2 separate regions of the Homo sapiens genome follow, and region 2 is linked to region 1. Evidence: promoter capture Hi-C in 16 types of primary human blood cells and fetal thymus (Javierre and others, 2016). All regions are on one chromosome and are shown on one strand. Each heading gives the region's core, a stretch centred on a gene start or on the middle of the fragment in contact. The rest is flanking DNA. Distances are from core to core; before and after follow the strand shown. Region 1 holds the start of GYPC (glycophorin C (Gerbich blood group)). Region 2 overlaps CLASP1 (cytoplasmic linker associated protein 1).

Evidence for each region. Contacts are between HindIII fragments. The CHiCAGO score rates a contact against its expected background, and 5 or more counts as called.
Region 2: a contact is called between a fragment that was not itself captured here and the fragment with the promoter of GYPC in region 1, in 1 of 17 cell types (neutrophils). The highest score is 5.4, in neutrophils.

The regions. Positions count from the first base shown.
Region 1 is chr2:126,653,338-126,657,982 of GRCh38, reverse strand. It overlaps GYPC (glycophorin C (Gerbich blood group)), which reads right to left and starts at 1,825. Exons shown (of 4, transcript NM_002101.5): 1 at 1,671-1,825. The coding sequence starts at 1,719. RefSeq lists enhancers at 126-355, 546-795, 253-1,092, 1,886-2,175 and a silencer at 1,426-1,795. The HindIII fragment of the contact is 9,683 bases long and covers 1-4,645 here.
Region 2 is chr2:121,525,073-121,529,717 of GRCh38, reverse strand. It overlaps CLASP1 (cytoplasmic linker associated protein 1), which reads left to right. Exons shown (of 41, transcript NM_001395891.1): 4 at 938-1,041; 5 at 1,828-1,919; 6 at 3,798-3,873. Among named protein-coding and RNA genes, the nearest start is that of CLASP1-AS1, 2.8 kb to the left of the region's middle. The HindIII fragment of the contact is 2,856 bases long and covers 285-3,140 here.

The sequences.
Region 1 (4,645 bases), core at 576-3,075:
CCTCTGGCTCTGATGAGCAGCTACATAAACTGAGACAGGATATAGACACATCCTGCCTGAGTTAGCAGCAAGAAATAGCCGCCCCCCACCCCCCCTGCAGTTCTCGCACAGCAGGGATCCTGCCATAAATCAATCCGAAGTCTAATGTGGAATGGCTTGCAAGCAAGGGCTGCACCGCTGTTTGTCTCCCAAGGCAAGTGTTGAAGGTCTGAAACCTGAGTCCTGGAGAACTGCTTGGGCTGCTGGGCTGGGCTGGGCACGGGGGCGGGGGTCAGGCAAGCCCATCCTCTTCAGACATGAGAATGCCTCTCAGCCTCACCTCCTCAGTGACTGAATTGGAATAATGACAGTGGCTCCTGTCCCTTTAACCCAGGACCTGCCGTATACACACACATAAACATATGCTCAAGTTACGTGCTCCGGGAACCACAGTCTCATGTGCAATTATATAAACATGCCCAGCACGGATCCAGCACTTAGGATGTGTCAGACTCCGTGCCGGGACATTTATACGCACTTCGTGCTGCTGGATGAGTTATCTCCTGTTATTATTCCTACTTTCCTACTTTGCAGATGAGGAAACTGGAGCTAAGAGAGGCTGCCTTGTTTATAGGCAGTGCAGATGATCCCAGTGCAGACTGAGGGGCCTCGCTCCCAAGCACCACTGATGCCTGCGCACTCCCAGGCTGACGCAAGCACAACCACAGGCACATGGAGTGCCGTGTACACACGTAGACCGAAGCAGCACTCCTCCACGCCAAGCTCCAAGCTCAGGCGGGGTGAGGGGTGAGGCCTCACAACCCCCTGGATTTCAAAGACTTATAAAAGAGTTGGTGTCTCCAATACCCATATCATTATCATATCAATAAGGTATCATTGTCACATGATAGGCTCAGGGTATCTCCTCTCTGACAGACTCTAAGAATCAGACCGCGGCAGGGTGGGGGTAAGAGGGATGTACATTACGTTTTTTGGTAAAATCAAATGGTAGTTTTTATTGCAAAAGTCCAACGGCAGAGGAAGAGGGCAGAGAGAGGCCCAGCAATGTTTCCAAGCATCTACAAAGACTTTCATCACAGATGATTTCCTCTCAGCAAGAAAACGTGATGGTTTAAAAGAGAAAACCAGCAGCGAGGAATTACAAATCCCCAAAGGATCCAGGCCGCAGGATTCCCTCGCATCTGTGTGCCTTTGCGGCGCCCAGCGGAGCGAGCAAGTCCCTGGGCAAGGCTGGAGTTGCCTGGAGTTCACCGGAGCCTGGCCGGTCGGACCCTGGCTGGGGAGCAGCACAGAAGCAACTTGTGATGTGAACTCTCACCTAACTGTTCTTTAGGGAGACAATTCTGGCCCCACACATTTCACATGCCCCGCACAAAGAAACAGAAAGCGGGCGACACGCCCTGGGAGGGCGGGCTGGCGGCTTCTCCAGCTCGGAGCGCGTGGAGGCTGCGCGTAGGGGTCCGGGACGCGGGACAGGGACTCCGCGCAGCCCAGGCGCCGGGGAACCGGGGCTGGAGTCGGGGATCTGAGCCCAGCGGACGCCTCCTCCGCCTGGAGGCCCGGCACGGACCGGGACACCAGGGCGTCCGTGGCCGTGGCTCGGCCCCTGGCTGCTGCGGGCCGCGGCCTCCAGTGGGTCCCCAGGACCCTTCCCCACGGCGGGTACTCACCGAGGCTGAGAGGCCACGCCGTGCTGTTGGGGCTTCTCGTCGACCACATTCCTGGGCGTCAGCCCGGGCAGAGACCGCGGGGACTGGCCAGGCCGGGCCAGGCCGGGCCGGGGGAGGGTCGCGCTCCCGGGCTCCTGACCCTCGGCGGCGAGAGGAAGCGGCACCTGGGTCACACTCCTCCCGCGCGGGCCGAGGGGAGGGGCTCTGGCCCGGAGATAGGCAGACTTCATTTATTTTTTTTCTGCAGACTTGGCTGGTGGGGTTTCCACCCCCTTTTTTTTTTTTAAACACACACCCGCCCACTTCTGAACTCTTCTTTGCTCCAACTTTCCTGCGCAAGAACCACGCTTTTCTAACCGTTTCTCTTTCCATCTGCCACTACCGGATACAGAGGTTGTGGTTGAGAATTCCCCCTGGAGTGCAGGGAAAACTCCCCAATGTGACATGATGGCCTGGCCCAGCACTGTCGGGGATGGTGACCAAATAGGGCAGACCTGTGTTGAAATCTTGGCTGGCTGCGCGGCCGCTGGATAGCTGGGCGGCCTCTCTCAGCTGCGGGGCATTTGTCCCTGGAGAGAGTCCCTGTCTTGTTGGCCTTTGGGGGCCCTGTACTCATGGATGGGCTGTTGAGCAAAGATCATTCCAAAACAGGAAGAATTGCTGGACAAGAGTCGTGATTTGTTCCCATTGCTTTTGTCTGAAGCTGCCAGACACAGTGCAGTTTGTGAATTCGCTCTACTTTTGCCATGAAAATCTCCACGTGGATTTCGATACATACCTTTGTTGGTTAAATGCAGTCAAATGGCACCACCTACAAAAAATGTATCATAGCATTATCTGCCCCTTCTGCCCAGAGACAAGGGCAGGGAACTTGAGGCCCTTGTTTTAAATCCCCACCCAGGGGAACACCCTGTGCTTCTCCTGTGTGATGTCTGAACCTTCCTGTGCTGCTTTTCATTGTTTACTTTATAGTTCCCCAAGCACTTTTGTGACGCCCACCTCTCCCCTACCTTCTGCCATTAAGGCCTATCCTGCACAATCCGGAGAGCCAGGCCAGCTGTCTGTACAATGTATGGGCGGTGCCTTTGGGACTGTCATCTGCATTGAATACAATGAGAGGCTGCGCCCTGGAGATTTGCAACACAGAGGCTTTGCTCACCTCTAGCCGGGCTGCACAAACTCCAGGCCTTCTTGACGCAGTGGGAAAGCACTCATGATTCACTTTAGTTAGATCATGAAGAACCCCCGATGCTGATAGATCTTTACTCCAACTGCCATGTGCAGCACAGCCATGTTGAATTGAAATAAACTACTCACAGAATGCCTTTGGCCTGGTGGGGAAGCCCTGAGTCTTGATTTCCTCATCTATAAAATGGAGGCAAGAACACCTGCATTCCGGGGTTTTACAGAGGCAGTGATTGTAGAATCACAGTGGGAACAGAAAAGGCATTTAATAAACAGCAATGAGTAATGATTAATTTATTTTTATTTATTTATTTATTTATTTTTCTGAGACGGAGTTTTTGCTCTTGTTGCCCAGGCTGGAGTCCAACGGCGTGATCTCGGCTCACCACAACCTCCGCCTCCTGGGTTCAAGCAATTCTCCTGCCTCAACCTCTCGAGTAGCTGGGATTACCAGCATGTGCCTCCACGCCTGGCTAATTTTGTATTTTTAGTAGAGACGGGGTTTCTCCATGTTGGTCAGGCTGGTCTCGAACTCCCGACCTCAGGTGATCCACCCACCTTGGCCTTCCAAAGTGCTGGGATTACAGGCGTGAGCCACTGCACCCGTGATTACTTTAACAGTTTAACTTTTTTTTTTGGTAATACATACACATACGTCTACGTGGAACAGTAGTCCCGCTCCTCTGTCCTGAGAGAAAATAACTTTAATTATCTGAAATGCAGCTGGAAAGTTGGAAAGAAGCAGAAAGTTCTGCCAGGTAACAACGGACAAGTCATTAGGTCATTGCAGCACACTTAGAGAAGTCACTTTTACAGACTCATTTAGAACCTACTGGCCTTAGACGTAATCATAAGAGATTTCCTTAATTTCTTAGGGTAAGACAGGTTGAAGGCATCAAAATGTTGCAGAGAATTCCTTACAGAAAATAAGCCAAAAATTAATAAACTAACGAACTAAACAGTGAAAATTGAAAGCCCCACAAACTGCAGAGGTCAGATACAAGAACGAAGTAGCATTTGTTACAGAACTAAAGCAATCTCAGCTCCAGCCATCACTGGAGGATGTGACAGTTCCTTGCGCTATTAAAGACCACAGGGCTTTGGAACTCAATCTGGGTTAGTTACTCTACTGCCTACTAGCTGCGTAACCTTCAGCATTTCACTTTCTTTCTCTGAGCCTCATTTTTCTCAGCCTGGAAATTGGAGCAATCTGCAAAGTTAGGCTGTTGTGAGTAATATATTCGATAATAATTAAAGAGGTAATTACAATGAGAGTACACTGGAGTTACTTAAAGATATTGGCCCCCTTCCTCCTCTAACACATACTTTGTTCATAGTAAGGACCCCAAGTCATTTGAAAAAGAAAGTAAATAGTGTGTCTTAGTGTGTAGCAAATTAGCTAACAGGGAAACATTTGACATATTTTAGAAAATTTAACTATGAAAGTGTCTAATGTTAAATAAATGACTCTTAAGAAGGGAAAATAATTATGTGAAAAATTTAATTATATGGTAACAGTCTGACATAAGTCAAGAAATGTATTATTAGTGTGTCTTCATGTGTTGGATATTTATTAATGAAGTTAAAAAAAAAACTCAGCTATATCTTGCAATAATAAACCAGTTCTTATCTTGTCTAGTTCCCATAAATACTCTTAAACGGAGTATTGCCAAGAGTCCATTGTAAAGATGAGAACCCAGAAGTTCAGCACAGTGACAAGAACTTGCTCTGCAGTGCAGCCGGGATGGACGGTTCTAGCTGTGTCTTCATTGACTGTCTGTGGCTGATAC
Region 2 (4,645 bases), core at 463-2,962, 5.1 Mb after region 1:
ACAAATGTATAGTAAATGTTCACTCTTATTTTGAAGGGAAAACAGTATGTCAGCAAAATGAAACAAAACCCACAGATTTCATAGATTTAAATACCTCTAAATTCCTGACCTCCGGTGTTTCATGGGGGTAGTATAAACACTAAGCATCTCTATGCAACCATTTCCTTATGGAATTTCTCTGTTTTACGTTGGTACACATGTATTCTTTACTGTTAACTTTCCGACCAATATGCTCCTTCTGAAAAGGTCATGAGCACCGACTGTTTACAAATTTAAAAAAAGCTTTTACTTTTAGACATTTGATATTTTAATAGTGTTCCATTTTCCTCCTAAATTAGCTGAATTATTCAGGGATATCTCATGTAATAGAGGTTTACAAACTCTTAAAATAAGCTGATCTCTGGTCTACAGGTGCACTTGGACCACTGGTGGGAGGGTCCACCCTGGGTATGTCGGGGAAGATGGAGAGCTGGGCTCTGTCTCATGTGTGTATGGGCGTGATGTAAAACTAAAAATACACAATAGTGATGAAACTTAAGATTTATTCATAAGTGCCCACTCCTTCCACCCCCAAACACATATACTGGAGCCCCTCTCCTTGTGTTTTACCTAAATTTTCCTTTCTGTTGACTCTTCCTCTCAAGGTCTTCCATTTTTATCAGCTTACAAATACGTTGGGAACTGGCTGGAGGAACGTGGGGTAAGGAGGAAGACAAATAGTGTATCTGTCCATGCAAAGGATTTTGCAGACTCTTTTGGTGACTTTCATGGACTTCAGCAAGGAGAGTAGAGCTGTGAGCAAAGATGAGTGGTTTTAGAATGAGATACATCATTTAGGTCAGGGGTTTGTCTTCCCACATAATTGAGATAGGAATACTTGGTGACCACAGACCCCCAAATAGGGTTTCATTTGATCAGTTTCCATTTTGATTTTCAGTGCTGCCAAGTCTAATAGACAGACTAGGAGATGCTAAAGACTCTGTGAGGGAGCAGGACCAAACTCTGCTGCTAAAGATCATGGATCAAGCTGCTAATCCCCAGGTAGGGGCAAGAGATGTGTTTTGAGGTCAGCTGGCCAGTGCGCGTGCATGCACGTGCGAGGGTGTGTGTGTGTACTTGCACAAATGGTGTGACTCCATAGACTTAAGCTGATGTATTACAGATAAAAATTTTCACAGCATTCAATCTGTTTCCCCATGCAAGATATTTAAATAAGTCACAAAACTATGAGATGAGTAAATTAGTGGATTTAACATGGGGGTATTGAATCTAATATACTTAGTTTTAATCCATTAGACTCTTCAGCTCATTTATGTAACCGACTCTCCAATTCTCTGAAAAGAGGGAGCTGTGGTGTCTGGGGAGTCAGGAGGCCTGGCTGGAGCCCTGGCCCCTGTCTTCCGGTGAATTGGGGCTGCTGGGATGGACCAAAACAGCCCTGCTTTCCCAGCTTCTACTGTCCTTTATTGGGGGGTGATCAGAAAAAACAGAGGCCAGTGTGAGTGTGTGATCTTTGGCAACTCACTAGCTCCTTTGGCCTTGCTTTCCTCACCCATAAAATGAGGACAGTTATACCTCTCTTTCAGGGTTCTTGGGAGAATTAAATGCAATTATGTAAATGAATGTGTTTTAAAAATTGTAATTTGATATACTTGATAACATGATAGATGTCATCATTTTCCAGTATGCTCTCGAGAGGATTAAATGTGTTGGTAGAGGATGGGACTAATTTGGCGCTCGTTAAGAGGCTTGCCTTCTATTGCTCCCTTATAAAGTGTCAGCTGCAGCAGTCTTCTCCTTTCCTCACCTGTTCTTTGTCATCTGCAGTACGTATGGGACAGAATGCTTGGAGGCTTCAAACACAAGAATTTCCGTACTCGAGAAGGCATCTGTCTCTGCCTTATAGCAACACTCAATGCGTAAGTCTGGGATGAGCCTGACATTTTTACGTGGCTGAATTTTTTAAAACTTTTTATTTTGAAATAATTATAGATTTACAGGAAGTTGCAAAGAAGTGTAGTGTGAGATCTCATGCCCCCTTTACCCACCCTTGCCCAGTGTTAGCACCTTGAATAACTATAGTACAGCATCAGTACCAGGAAGTTGAGATGGATACAATCCCTAGAACTTGCGCAAATTTCTCAGGTAAAACCACATGTGCATTTGTGTGTATATACAACTGCACAGTCACTGCCGGGCTCCTTCATGCTGCTGTGTGTAGCTGCACCCTGACCCCTGGCAACCATGAATGTATTTGAATTTCCAGGAATCTGTTCTCCCTCCCTATGATTTTGTCATTTCAAGAATGTTATGTAAATGGAATTATACAATATGTAACCTTTTGAGTTTATCTTTTTTTCACTCAGCATAATGCCCTTGAGTTTGCACCTGACATTTGATAGTTCATTTTATTGCTAAATAGAATTCCTTGGTATAGATGTGTCACAGTTGGTTAAACTAGTCACCTGTTGAAGAACATTTGGGTAATTTCCAGTTTTTGGCTTTTATGAATAAAGCTGCTATGAACATTCATGTACAAGTTTCTACATGAACATAAGTTTCCATCTCTCTTGGATCACTGCCCAAGAGTACACTTGCTGGGTGATTTGGTAAGTTCATTTTTAGTTTAAAAGGTACTGCCAAGTTTTTCCCCAGAGTTGTCCATACTGTTTTACATTCCTACCAGCAATGTCCGAATAATCTGGTTTCTTCATACCCTTGCTAGCCATTGGATGTTGTCATTTTTTTATTTTAGCCATTTTTATATGTGTGTAGTAATACCTCATTGTGGTTTTAATTTGTATTTATCTAATGGCTGTTGATGGTGAACATTTTTTTCATGTGCTTATTTGTAGGAGAGGCTTTTTAAAAATTATAAATTTCAAGCCTTTTTTTCTGATTATGAAAAAATACTGTATATATCATAAAAATGTACGCAAGGAAAAAATAAAGATTGCTATGATTCTGTTACCTTCAGGTAATCACTGTTAAATTTGGTGCATTTTATCCTAACCTGTAAAGTTATGTTATTTTTAAAAACAAAATTGAGATTATAATGTTTATATTACTTGTAAATTTTTTCCATCTTAATATGTTAGCCTTTTCAGTGCCATTAAATTTGGCCATATGTAACTGAAGCTTAAGAAAAAAAAAAGAAAACTTCTAGCCTTTGATCACAGTAGCTCCAGTTTTAGGAATGTATGCTAAGGTAGTAGGCAGATTAACCAAGAGATTTTTATTCACAAAGGCTATTTGTCATGACAGGGATGGTGATGGTGAAAATTGTAACTCAAATGTGCCCCAGTAGGGCAGTACTTGGCTCAGATGTGCCCCAGTAGGGTAGATGCTCTGATTTGATTGCAGTCTTTTCATCCAGCGGTGTTGCCTGAATGTCTAGCTCTGCCACAGCACACGGGAGAATTAAACAAGGTCCCTCAAGTGACTCGTAGTTGGCTTAAAGTGACAGACAGTAATGCAGAGGCAGCACCTGTGAGGCAAGCGGGACCTGGGGGGCTGGAGCTCTGGCCCAGCCTTAAAGGGTTAGGGCCAGATTGGCCAGAGCCCTGGGGGACAGGACGAAGACTTATCTGGGAGAAGCCACCCTAGGTTTTGAACTCTGTGCAAAGGGGCCATCGGACACATTTACTTTGGAGCCAGTGTGGATGGGATGGAGAGAGACTTGGTATGAGGTGGTGATGGGGATTGGGGAGACACGGGAAGGGCAGGTGTGGGCAGACAGGCATCTTTCTTTCTTTCCTCAGTTCTCACTAACAAGAAAGCACTCCTTTTGTTTTCAGCTCTGGAGCACAGACTTTAACACTAAGCAAGATTGTGCCACATATATGCAACTTACTTGGAGATCCAAACAGCCAGGTGAGTGAGAAGGAAAACCCTCGGGAGAAGTCATTGCTTACAGACTGTTGAGATGCATTCTGGTGTTCCGTAGTGGGTGGGACTGGAGTCCTAATCTTCACAGAACACTGATGATTATTTAAGAGATCCAGTACCCATTAGCATTTATAAAATATTTATACATTCAAATGTATAAAATAAGTTTACATTTAAGTATAAAATTGGTAAATGTGGTGGCCAGTCTGTCCTCTTCTATACACAGGGCTGAGAAATCACTAGCCTAGAAATTGATGTTATCCAGACCAGCCTCCAAGATAAGATGTCTGGCCACCACCTCTGCAGCCAAAAGGGGTGGTGCCGGGGGTGGAGGTGCAGAATCTGCTGAGGTTGGGGAGAATGATTGAAAGAGGGTCTGAGGGGAATTTTCTGAGGTGATGGGAATGTTCTACATTTTGCTTTGGGGGGTGGCTCCACTGTGTATATCATCGTGGAAACTCCTCAACTGAACCCTTAAGAACTGCAGACTTTACCTAAATTAACAAAAAGTACCACTTCCTCAGTGTGAGGGTAGGAGAGGAGCTGGCTGTCTCACCTGTGAGTTACCAGGCAATTCACAAAGTTGTACAAGTCTGGGCTGGAGAAATAGCATTGAACTCTCCTCCCAGTTCAATGCTATTTCTCAACCAGAGTCATTTTTATTATGTCATCTCATACAAACTGATAAGAATGATACTTCATTAGAAGAAGGGACAGAAAATGGAACAGTAATTTACAAGAGAAATATATATGGTCA